2 separate regions of the Homo sapiens genome follow, and region 1 is linked to region 2. Evidence: promoter capture Hi-C in 16 types of primary human blood cells and fetal thymus (Javierre and others, 2016). All regions are on one chromosome and are shown on one strand. The core of a region is centred on a gene start or on the middle of the fragment in contact, and the rest is flanking DNA. Distances in the headings are between cores, read along the strand shown.

What was found. The method cuts DNA at HindIII sites, captures the fragments that hold promoters and counts their contacts. A CHiCAGO score of 5 or more calls a contact.
Region 1: a fragment that was not itself captured here is called in contact with the fragment with the promoter of RBMS1 in region 2 in 1 of 17 cell types (monocytes); the score reaches 5.4 in monocytes.

The regions. Positions count from the first base shown.
Region 1 is chr2:160,730,152-160,736,076 of GRCh38, forward strand. No RefSeq gene overlaps it. Among named protein-coding and RNA genes, the nearest start is that of RBMS1, 240 kb to the left of the region's middle. The HindIII fragment of the contact is 765 bases long and covers 1,482-2,246 here.
Region 2 is chr2:160,491,172-160,497,145 of GRCh38, forward strand. RBMS1 (RNA binding motif single stranded interacting protein 1) reads right to left here and starts at 2,636. Exons shown (of 14, transcript NM_016836.4): 1 at 2,118-2,636. The coding sequence starts at 2,192. RefSeq lists an enhancer at 2,177-2,697 and a silencer at 2,884-3,063. The HindIII fragment of the contact is 13,330 bases long and covers 265-5,974 here.

The sequences.
Region 1 (5,925 bases), core at 614-3,113, 240 kb after region 2:
GCAATAATTGGTAGAATCTTGACTTTAATAAGGTGGAATTATAACATATATGTTGCACTAAAGAAAAAGATAAACCAACAGATCAAAATCTCATTCCTTCATTTGATGACAGTAATAAATCTACATGATGTGCTTGCAGATGAAAGGAAGTCATTGTGATTTTTTATCTTGGAAAAATACATCCTTGTTAGGAATCAAAGATAACCTCTTGAGTAAAGTCTTGTTCCGAAACATTTTGCCATGTTGAAAGGTATGTTCAACTTTCTTGGTGTTTACCCAGGCAGTTCAAGCAGCTTTACAGGTCACAGAAAGTGACCTGAGCTCTTTACCATTGGCATCCAAAGGTTTCCATCAAGTCCTCAGGAGAATGCCATTTCATTGCTTTTTCAGCCCAACAGACCTACAGCAGTTTGTTTGTAAGATCACCTCCTGAACAGTAGAAAGAATCATGACAAAGGTAGAGATTTGCAGTCATAGTTACCACTGAGGCTGAATTTTAGTGGATTAACTTGCTTCATTGAAAAACATCTTTTACAGAGATATGAAGACTTTTTGTAAGCAAAACTGAAAAGGTCTTATAGGATGTTCAGCCTGATGTTTTGTTTTTCCCTACTGGGGCTTTCCCTTAGGTTGTAAATTCCAGCTTTCTAATGTCAGATTCCTCCTTTGTTGAGCTCTAAGGCATTTCTGGAATTACTCAGTAAAGGGACTTTGACAATCCCCTGCCCTGTTCTTAGGTCATAGAGCTGATTTATGGCTGGAGGAGGTTCTCTAAACAGTAGGTGAAATTGGTGAAATGTTATTCATTTATTAAAGTGGGCTTAGGAGTTCCTCCTGCTGATCAGTGGGGGTTGTCCTAAATCTAATCAGCCCTGGGTGCATCAACTTATTACTATTTTGTAAGTTTTCCTGCAGGAAAATGAACTTCACCATTACAGAATTTTAAGGGTAAAATCTGAAGAGTACATTGATGGTGTTATGGCAATTCTAAATCTGCAGTTTCAGGTTGATAGTATAGAAGCAGCTTCAGAAATGAATACTCCTATTAAGGTAAACTCATGAATTCAATATTCTTTCAACAGACATTTATTGACACGTGTCCATTCTGTTCATGTACTGCACTAGGTACCATGGATACAACAGAGAATGAGGCAGACAAACTGTCTTTTGTAACTTACTGGGGACAGACATTAATATTAAATAATAGCAAATATATGGTAAAATGGCAAGTAGTGTTCAGAGTTATGAAGAAAAATAAAGCACAGGCAGGGTACAGAGAATTGGGGTTGTCATTTTGGGTATGTACTACTTTTCTATTGCTGCTTTAGCAAATTACCACAAATTTAGTGATTTAAAATAACTTGAACTGTTGTCTTACTGGTCTGCAGGTTAGAAGTTTTACCCTGGTCTCAATGGACCAGCATCAAGGCATCAGCAGGCTCTAGGGGAGAATCCCTTTCCTTGCTTTTCCAGATTCTAGAAGCTTCTCACATTCCTTGGCTTGCTATCCCCTTCTTCTACTGATGTGAAGCAGCATCATCACATTTTTCTGACCCTTCATTCACTGTCACCTCTTCTTCTGACCACAGCCAGGAAAGGCTTTCCTATTTTAAAAGCTATGTGATTATATTGGGTCCTCCCAGATAATCCAAGACAATCTGTTTATTTTAAGGTCAGTTAATTAGCAACTTAAATTTCATCTACAACCTTAATTCCTTTTTGCCACATAAAATAACTTATTCACAGTTTCCATGGGATTAGGGTGTGAACATCTTTAGGAGTCCATTATTCTGTCTTCCAACAGGTACTTTAAATAAGTCTCATTCAAGTGGTAATTTCTTAATTAAGATTTGAATGGATGAGGACTCAACCCAAGTGAATATGTGGAGGAATAGTATTGCAGGCAAAGGCAAGGTATTGTAAGTTCCCTCTTTGAAAGGGAAAGGATGCAGGAGGCTGGCCCAGAGTAAGGAAGACAAAAGGTGATTGACAAGGTCAGAGAAATAGGAAGGGATCAAATCAAGTAAGACACCAGAGGCCTCAATGAGAAGCTGGGTTTTATTCTCTATATGACAGGAAACCATCAGAGTATTTAGAACAGAAGAGTGACATGATCTAATATATAATTTTAAAATGTCATTCTGGACAATGCCTTTGGAAAACAGTTTGACATTATCTTGTAAATTTGAAGATGCACATATTCCATTACCTAGGAATTCTATTCGTGTATTTGTGCCACAGAGAAAAGCTTATATATGTATACTGGGAATATATCCAATTATACCTGTATCTACAGTTAGTAATAATCTAAGCAAACAAAGAAAAAACTTGCATAAAACCCAATATCCATCAAAATTGTTAGTAAACTGTGGGAAATGCATACGATAGACTACTGTATAATAGTGAGAAATGAATAAATTCTAACTATATATCACGACATGATAAATCCCAGGTACCACCTAATGTTTAGCAAAAAAAAAGCAAGACTGTGAGAAGCACACAGTCATTAATTTATTCTAGAAATATTTCTTAATTTTAAGAAATATTTAAGCATTTACTTTGTACAAACATTGTATTGGGATATATTTGTAGACAAAATTGACAGAGATCTCTCTGCTCATGGAACTTACCTTCTAATAGTTGGACATAGAAAATCTATAGTAGACGGAATAAATAGGCAAATCATATGGTACGATAGAAGGTTAAAAAAATGATGAAAATAGAAAATAGAGCAAAGTAATGGAGATGGAACTGCTGTCATTTAAAATAGGATGATAGAGTAAGCACCACTGAGAAATATTTAAGACTGAAGGAAACCTTTTGGTTATCTTGATGAAGAACTTTGATCAGCTTGATGAAGACACTTGAAACTGCCAGTGCAAAGGCCTTAAAGATTAGAGGAAGAAGGCCAGTATGACTGGAGAGGAGAGAGTGAGATGAGATGGAAGACAGAAGAGATCAGCAGATGGAAAGTCATGTTTGGGGTCGGGGAGTCTTTTGAGCGTTGGTAGGGGCTCTGTGCTTTGGGAGTGACGAGAAGCAACTAAAGAGCACAGAGTAGAGGGTCTTCGTGGTCTGATATATATTCTAAAAGAACCACCCTGGCCAATGTGTTCAAAACAGACTGCAAGAGACAAGGGCAGAAACAGTGAGACCAGTGAGGAGGTTACTTTGGTGAGTAGGGTGAAAGATGATGGTGGCTGCGATGAGAGTGGCAGCAGCAAGGATTTTGAGAAGAAAGAATCTGGATTTATACATTTTTTCTAAAAAAATTAAATTGTTTTTATTTTGACATAATTTTAAGGTCATAGAAAACTTTCAAGAATAATACAAGTTCCCAGGTACATTTGCGTACTCTCTCTCGCTCGCTCCACACGCGCGCACGCGCAGACCCACACATGAGCGCATGCACACACACACACACACACACACACACACACACACACACACACACACACACACACACGTTCTCTCATATAACCCCGGAACAATTATCCAAATCAGGAGATCACCATTGATACAATAATGTTATTTAACCTACAGAACTTATTCAGATCTCACTATGTGTCCGAATTATATCCATTAAAGCAAAGGAAAATTTTGGATCATATTTGTGTTGCTATTTCTCTTTAGTTTCCTTTAATCTGGAATAGTTCCAGTCTTTTTGTCCCTAGTAACATTGACATTTTTTAAGTATGCTGGCCAGTTTTCTGTTTGTTTGTCTTTAGAATGTCCCTGAATTTGAGTTTGTCTGGTGTTTTCTCATGATTAGGTGTAGGTTCTGCATTTTTGGCAGGAATACATTCTTGGCACAGAGGTGATGCTATGTCTTTCACAGTGCATCATACAACGGGAGGCACAGACATGTGCCATTGATTTATCCCACTTCTATTAAGGTTACTTAGTTAAGGTGGTGTCTGTCAGGTTTATCCAATGTAAAGTCACTAATTTTTCTTTTTAATTAAAAAATAACTTGTGGGGAGATACTTTGAAACTATGCAGTAAATATCCCGCCACTTATCAAACTTTCACCACTGGTTTTGGCATGCATTGATGATTCTTCCATGAACTGATAATTATCACAATGCTGAATGATGACTTTTCTAATTCTGTCATTTCTTCTAAATTTACTATTGGCTTTCTACTGAAACAGAACATTTTCCCTTCTCCCTCTATTAATTAACAACATGTATTCTTCGTTCAATGAATCTTAACCTATTAATATCATTATTTGTTTAAGTACTCAAATATCTCAGATTTGGTCAATGGGAGCCCTTTAAAATGGTTCCTGTGTCCTTTTGACATGTCCCTGTCCTAATTTGAGTACTTTCTCATTTGTAGCACACTAAGATGGTCCAGGTTTATTTTGTACTTTTCCAGCCCTGGCCCAAGAATCAACCATGTCTCCAAGAATTACTGGTTCCTTTCAATTAAATATTGGTAGGTAGTTGCCAGGTATGTTCATTGTTTTTGATATCTGTGTATGTTTTGAAGGTGGGAGTAAAAAGAAAAGGAGTCAAGGATGATTCCAAGATTTCTAACCTGAGCAAATGGGGGGATGGGGGTATCACAAAATGAGATGGAGAAGGCCAAGGTAGAGTACATTTGGAGAGAGGACCTGGAGTTCAGTCTGGCCACGTTGAGATGTTTATTAGACATTCCAGTAGAAATGGCAATTAGGCATTTGGATATCTGGGTCTGTAGTTCTACAGAGAATCCTTCTCTGGGGATAAAATTTGGAAATCATCAGTGTGTAGGTGGTATTTAAATCCATGAGAAGGAATGAGATCATCAAGGGGATGAGCATAGATAGCAAAGAGAAGATAACCAAAGTCTGAGACCTGGGGCATGGCAACATAAGAGGTCAGGGATAAGAAGGAAAAACAACAAAGAAGACTGAGGAAGAAGGAAAGAAGAAAGAACTTGATGTTCCAGCTGTCAGGGGAAAAAAGGGCACCAAGGAGGAGACAGTGATCAACCATGTCAAATGCTGCTGCTAAGTCAGGTCAGATGAAGTCTGAGAATTGAGTAACACGAGGATTGAGAATTGACCATTAAAAGGGGGCAGTTAGCCTAATTGGAGTGGGCTTAAGTGAGTCTAGGAAATATGGAATTAAACAGAACAAGTATAGAATAATACTTTTAAAGGGCTTGTTGTACAGAGGAGCAAAAGAATGGAGTAGTAACTATAGGGAGTTGGAGGTCACAAGAAGGTTTTTGAGTTCATTTTTTATAAGATGGAAGAACTAACAGCAAGGTTATGTGTTACTGATGGAAGTGATGGAGAAGCTAGTGAAAAAAGTGATGAATGGAAGAAGCTTGAATAGGTGGAGTCTGTTTTCTTGCTATTTCCAGTTTCCCTTTCTAGAGGCTACCCATGTTTCTTGCCCCCTGACTCCCTTCTTCCGTTGTCAAAACTAGCAATAGCAGGGGGTGTCTCTTTCCATCTCTCTGACACCTCCTTTCATCCTCCTCCTTTCTCTCATTGCACCCAAGAAATGTTCTACAATTTTAAGGACTCATGTGTTTTGATTGAGCCTACCCAGATAATCTAGGGTAAACTATCAAAGTCCTCAACCTTGATCACATCTGAAAAATCTTTCTTTTTTTTTTTTTTTTTGCCATGTAAAGTAACATGCACAGATTGTGAGGATTAGGACTTGTATATGTAAATTTGGGAGGGTCAGTCTGCCAACCACATCATTATTCTGCCAACCACAGCATCCCAGAGATACCAGAATCCTTGAAATAGTTGGCTTCTTAGGTGGTTTTGTTTATTACTTTAACTTGCCTAGCTTACTCTTTAGTTATTTAGACTACAGTAAACTTCTTGTGAGTGGTCATGAATTCTAGATGACTGGAGCATATTCTATGTGCACTGTATATGGATTTGTCATTTAAGTGTTGCTGATTAAATGCTCTGTA
Region 2 (5,974 bases), core at 1,386-3,885:
CCATTTTTAGAAGATGTCCCCTTCTGAGATAATCAAGATACTTGTACAACAGGGAATTTAGACTTAATTACCAAACTTTAATACCATGTTATATAGGTCAAGTGAGTATGTATACCTTTCTCCAGAAACAAAGGAATTCCGAATAATAGGATTTCAGATTTAATTGTAGAATTAGCAAAATGTTTTGAGAATGTCATTTACCGCAACACAAATCAATATTAAATGCTTTATGCAGGAAGCACACTTTCAGAAAATGGGCCGTAAAGCTTTCTGGGATCCGACCCTAATTACTAGAGCAGGCTCTTGCCGTTTGTCTCTCTCTTCAATTATTTACAGGGCAAAAAAGCCAAATGGCATTGCATTAGCTACATTAAATGGTATGGACTTGGTTTCTAACTTACTAATGGTATATAAAAATTACTAAGGTAAATGTGCCTGTAGAAACATGGCTTTTTTTCTTCCTCACCTGAGTGGGTGTATTTATTATTCATATTGTTAAGTGTTGAATAAGCTGTCCTTTAGGCACCCAATGCTGCATAATTTAAACAAGTGCATTAAATATATAAGATATCTAAAAGGTAGTGCATTGATTATGCCACAAAATTTCTTTGAACAGCTACCATGTAGCTCACAGAAAACTAGCATCTCCTGCAAGTTCCTAAAACAAATACTGTGAGAACTACACAGAGATGAATAAGGGGTATCCTTGCTGCTACCATCTTGCTGCTTTCTGGTGACCCAAAGTAAAGTGGGAATTGGGGGAAGTGAAAATGAGGCCCGGGATTGCTAGGACATTTCTGGTCTCGAAACTGACAAGTGTCCTTTTTACGTAGACAAATACAGGGCTATGTCGTAAGTACATGAAAACGTGGACCACACACATTCTAAGAAAGAAAAGGCTGAATCAGAGATTCTTTGTACCAGGCCGGAAATGCCCAACTACCAGCAAGCAGAGCATGATTACAACCTCCCAAAGAAAGTTCGGACACTGCATCCATACCTGATTCTTTTGTGATCTAGAAGGGCACCCAGAGTTGTGATAGATGTTAATGGCTGAAGAAGGCTGCTGCGTCCAACTTCCACCCTCCCAAATTCTGGCGGCTGCTTCCAAAGCAGTGAAATTTCCAGTCTTCATGGCCCAAATAATTTTTTTAAATGAGTTCGGGAGGCATCAAATTCTTATTGTAAAAATAAGATAGGCCCACTAACAAAGTACCCAGGGTCCCTAGAAAGCCAGGCGCAATTTGTATGGCTACATGTCATCAACTGTTGTTACCCAAGAGTGTGCCGAGGTCACTTTTTAAAAAGCAACATTGGAAATCGATCTGTGGCAAACATATAAGCTAGTTTTGTTTTTGTTTCTTTTTTAACCAAATACGAAGTCACTTCTTTCTCTGCACTGAAATCTGCCCATTGTCCCTCCTTTGCAAAACCTCTAGAGATTAGAAGGGACATCAATGAACGCGAGTGAACTTTGGCCACTTTTCTACCCAAAACACCAGCGTAAAAGTAGAAATCAGTAACCAGGTGAAGTGCCACACCGCACAAAGATCAGAGGCGAGGGGCGGGCGCTCAGGGCCGGAGGCGGGGAGGAAAATATCCCGGCCCCGCCGCCCCTCCAGCCCCAGTCATCGCGTGCGCGGGAGGTGGAGGGGCGTCCCTGGGGGGCGGGAGGCTCCGCGCCACGGCGAGGGGAGCGAAGAGTTACAGCTTACAGGGCGAGGCCCTTGGAGAAGGGGTCGAAAAGCCGGGCCACCAGCGGATCCAGACGCGCACACCAGGCGACGGCCGCCGGCCAGCCAGGGCTCGGCGAGGGGCGCCGCTCGACCCCACGACCCTCCCCGCTGGCCGGGCCAGGAAGGGGCTGGTGGCTCTTTCCTGTCTAGTCTCTCCCCCCGCGGCTTTCTGTAACCCGATCCCCGCACTCCGCTCCCAGGGAAGCCGCCGCCCCGCGCGCCGCCCGGCTCTGCCCAGGCCAGCGCTATAGTTAGCAACCTTCCAGCAACTCCGCCCGGCGGTGGCGGGGGTTCGCCGCGCGCCCCCCTCCCCAGGCCTGACCCTGCGCGCGTCCCCGGGCCCCCTCCTCCGGCCGTCACCTCTCCCCGGCGCCCCTTTACCTTGGCTTGCAGATACTGGGGGTAATAGTAGGTGGCGTACTGAGGGTACATCTGCTGTTTCCACACTTTGCCCATGAAGCTGGAAGGGAGCCTGCCGTGCAGGGTCGCGGACACTTTGGGGTTTCCAAGTCTCGGGCTCTCCTGCCTCTCCCTTTCCGGCGGCGGCGGCAGCGGCGGCGGCGGCGGCGGCTGCTGCTGCTGCCGCTGCTCCACCTCCCAGCCGGGACCAGACGTCCTCCTCCTCCTCCTCCTCTTCCTCCTCCTCCTCCTCCTCCTCCTCCTCTTCCTCCTCCTCCTCCTCCTCCCAGGCAGAAAGAAAGACACTGCAGAGCGCAGAGGGCACCCCGGACAGGGCGCTCCCAAGGAGTTTCCTCCCGGAGCCCGACTGCTCCGGGGCTGCCAAGGGCTGGCGCGCTGGCCGCGGTCCGCTCGGGCGAGCCGGCTGCGCGGGGCTGAGAGGTGATCAATACAAGTGGAAAGTGCGGCAGCGGCGGCTGCGCTTGGTGCCAGGCGGCATCTGGGGTGGGTGCGCCCGATGTGGAGAGAGGAGAGGGGCTGGCGTTCCGAGGCCGTGGGGGAAGGGCGGGCGGGGGCGGGGCCTGGGCGCCGCCGAGCCCGGGACCCGCTGGAGGTGAGGGCTGAGTTTTAACCACTCCTCACCTCCCAGGCTCGCGGTTGGACGGGCGGAAGCCCTGTGAGTCCAGATCGCTTTGTGTCGGGGGTGGGGAAATGGGAGTGGGAGTGGGGGTGGAGGGGGAATGCGGGGGGACCCAGCTTAAGAACTGCAGGGCGGGCACCTCTTTTGCTTTCCCGAGTTTTTATCTTCGTAAGGGGGAGGGGAAATAAGGGAAAAGAGGAAATCTGATTAATCGTTCACTTCCCACCGCCCAGTAATTTTTTTTCACAAGGGAAGGAAAATGATTTAATGCCCAACAAAGCTGGAGTCTGGACACCTGGGTTCTGTTCCTCCCACCCACCCCCGACCCGGGGCCACAAGACTAATCTAGGTGACCTTGGGAGGGTTAGCGTCCTTCGGTTTGGTTTTCCCAGATGTGAGACGTGAAATCATGCCCCTTGCACAAGGGGAGGCAAAGCACATACATACATACACACACACACACACACACACACACACCCCTCACAACATATAGACGGATCCTTCTAAGAGGGGGATGCCGCAAAGAGGCAGAATGTTATTAGAGGACACAATATAGACATCAGCTTTTCTCTGCCTCTTTCTAATGCTGCCAGACAGTCTGTCAACTCCCACTCAGGAGCAAGGAAACTCCCTGAGTTTGGAATATTTTAAGGCCATTTTGAAAGTCACGCTGGCATATTGTTGCAGTGTGCTTCAGTGACATATAAAATCAATCTCTCTTTCTGCCTCTCTCCATCTCCTAATTGTCACAGCTCTAGACAGCCTCAGACCAGCAGTGGTTCAGTTCACTACATAACTAGATATAATTTAATGGAATTAATTGGTCCCCGAAGCTGCCTGCAGAAGACTTTTATATTCCAGCTCAAAAAGAGAGCTAATACCAAAATGTACATACGGATAGCATAGGTAAGCAAGCATCCTCAAATTAGGGTTCCGGCACATCTAATAAAATGTAATAAAAAACTGTGTTTGTTATTAAATAGACCTTGTTTACTTTGTCATTTTGGTTTTTGAAGAGTCTTTTGTTAATAGCACAAGGTAAATTAAACTCAACTGGAATGCATTATTTTGTTAAACAGTTATTATTTTTATATGATAACATTTTAAAATAGGTTTAGTAAGATACTTTAAAACAATGACAAAATAAGGACCTGAAACCCTTATAATCGTTCTATGGTTTAGACAAATTTCTAGATCTTACATGTTTGACAAAAACAAAATAAATATAAGTATAGGTGAGAACATTTTGGCTCTGCCAGGAGGCAAATCATGTCCCTCTCATTTACCTATGTAAAAGCCTATAAGGAAGCTAATATTTACTATGTCTGCTATATTGTAGGCACTGTTGAGGTGCATGCAGACCTGAAAAGTGGAATGGGTCACTGTCAGACTAGGGGAGCCTAAAATATTTCCCATATTGTTTCAATGTGGGGCCTTTTAATGTTTTTAAACAGGGAACTGACATGAACTAAATTGTGCTTTAGGAAGACTAGGAATGATGGTTTGGAAGAGTGACAGAAGGAAGAGAAGTAAATCGAGAACAATCGCAGAAGTTCTAGGTTTGAGGTAATAAGGGAAACTACCAAACTTAGACTGTTCTACTTACTGTTTTTTCTGGATGATGGAAATTCAGCCTGTTTTAGAGAGCCCAAAAGCAGACCTACACTTGTATAGACACTTGATTTATGACTGAGTTGGTATTATAGCGCAGTGGAGAAAGAATGAACTTTTCAATAAATGATTCTGGGTCAACTGGCAATCATATGGAAAAAATGAAATGGGAGCCCTGCCTCACACATACCAAGGGAGGAGGGTGGAAAATTGAGGTGAATCATGACCTGGATGTGAAAAACAAAAGTATAAAGCTGTTAGAAGACAATATAGAAGAATACCTTTTTGACCCTGAAATAGGAAAGATTGGTTAAATAAGGGGAACAACAGTGTAAGATTGACAGATTTGACTGTTAACATTAAGAACACTGGTTCATTGAAGGATTTTATAAAAAGCGATAAAAGCCACTAAATACCTGTAATACATATAACACAAAAGGTTAGTATACAGAATGTATAAATAATCAATAAAAAAAGAGAACTTGTTAGAATATGAACAAAAGAATGAATGTGTATTTCACAGAAGCACAAATATTCAGAAAACATATAAAAAGATGCTCAAGTTCATTAGTAATAAGAGAAATGCAAATTAAAATAATACTACTATACCATTTCATATTCACCGGATTTGCAAAAATTAAGAACTCTAAAAATATTAAGAGTAGGTAAAAATGTGGAAGGGGGGAAATCTGAAAACACTGCTTCCTGGAGGAAGTATAAATTGGTCTAACCACCACTTTAGAAAACAATTTGGCATTCCTGAATTTCATTTGCATGTTTCCTACAACACAGTAACAGGTACGTACCTTAAATAAATTATTTTATATGTGCACCAGGAGAAATATACAGGAATGTTCATAATATGCAGAAAATAACTCAAATGTCTACCAACTGTAGAGTGGATTAAAAAGGTTTTAGTATATGCACACATTGGAGTCGTTGCAGAAACAGAAATGAATAAGCTGCAGTTAAAAGCATCAACATGGATCATTTCAAAACTGATGTTGAATGAAAAAGGCAAGTCAACAGAATGCATAAAGCATGATTCCATTTGTATGAAGTTCAAAAACAGAAAAAATAACTAAACAGTATGTTATGTAAGAATAGGTGCAAGAGTAGTTTTTAAAAACTTTTATAAGGAAAATCAAAAGTAAAATAACATAAAATTCAAAACAGTATCTCTTAGGAAGAAGAAGGATGAAGTATTTAAGGAGGGGCCGAAGGAGACCTCTAGAAATAGTAATGTTGGATGTTTTGCTCTGGGTTATTGATAACATGAGACTACATTTCAATACTTTTGTTTTAATGTTCATAAGTTCTTTTGTATTTTTGCTGTATTTCATGTGAAAACATTTTAAAACAAAATCAGCTTTTAATTTTAAGCATGATCATTTTCAAACAAATACAAAAGCAGAGGAACCCTCTGTTCCTAACATCCAGCTTCAACATTCATCAACATTTTGTCATTCTTTTTTCTTCCCTCTTCTCTCTTTCTCTGTCTCACACACACACAAACACACACACACACTTACTTTTATTTTTCTAGAGTATTTCAAAGCAAATCCCAAGCATCATATTTCACCAGTAA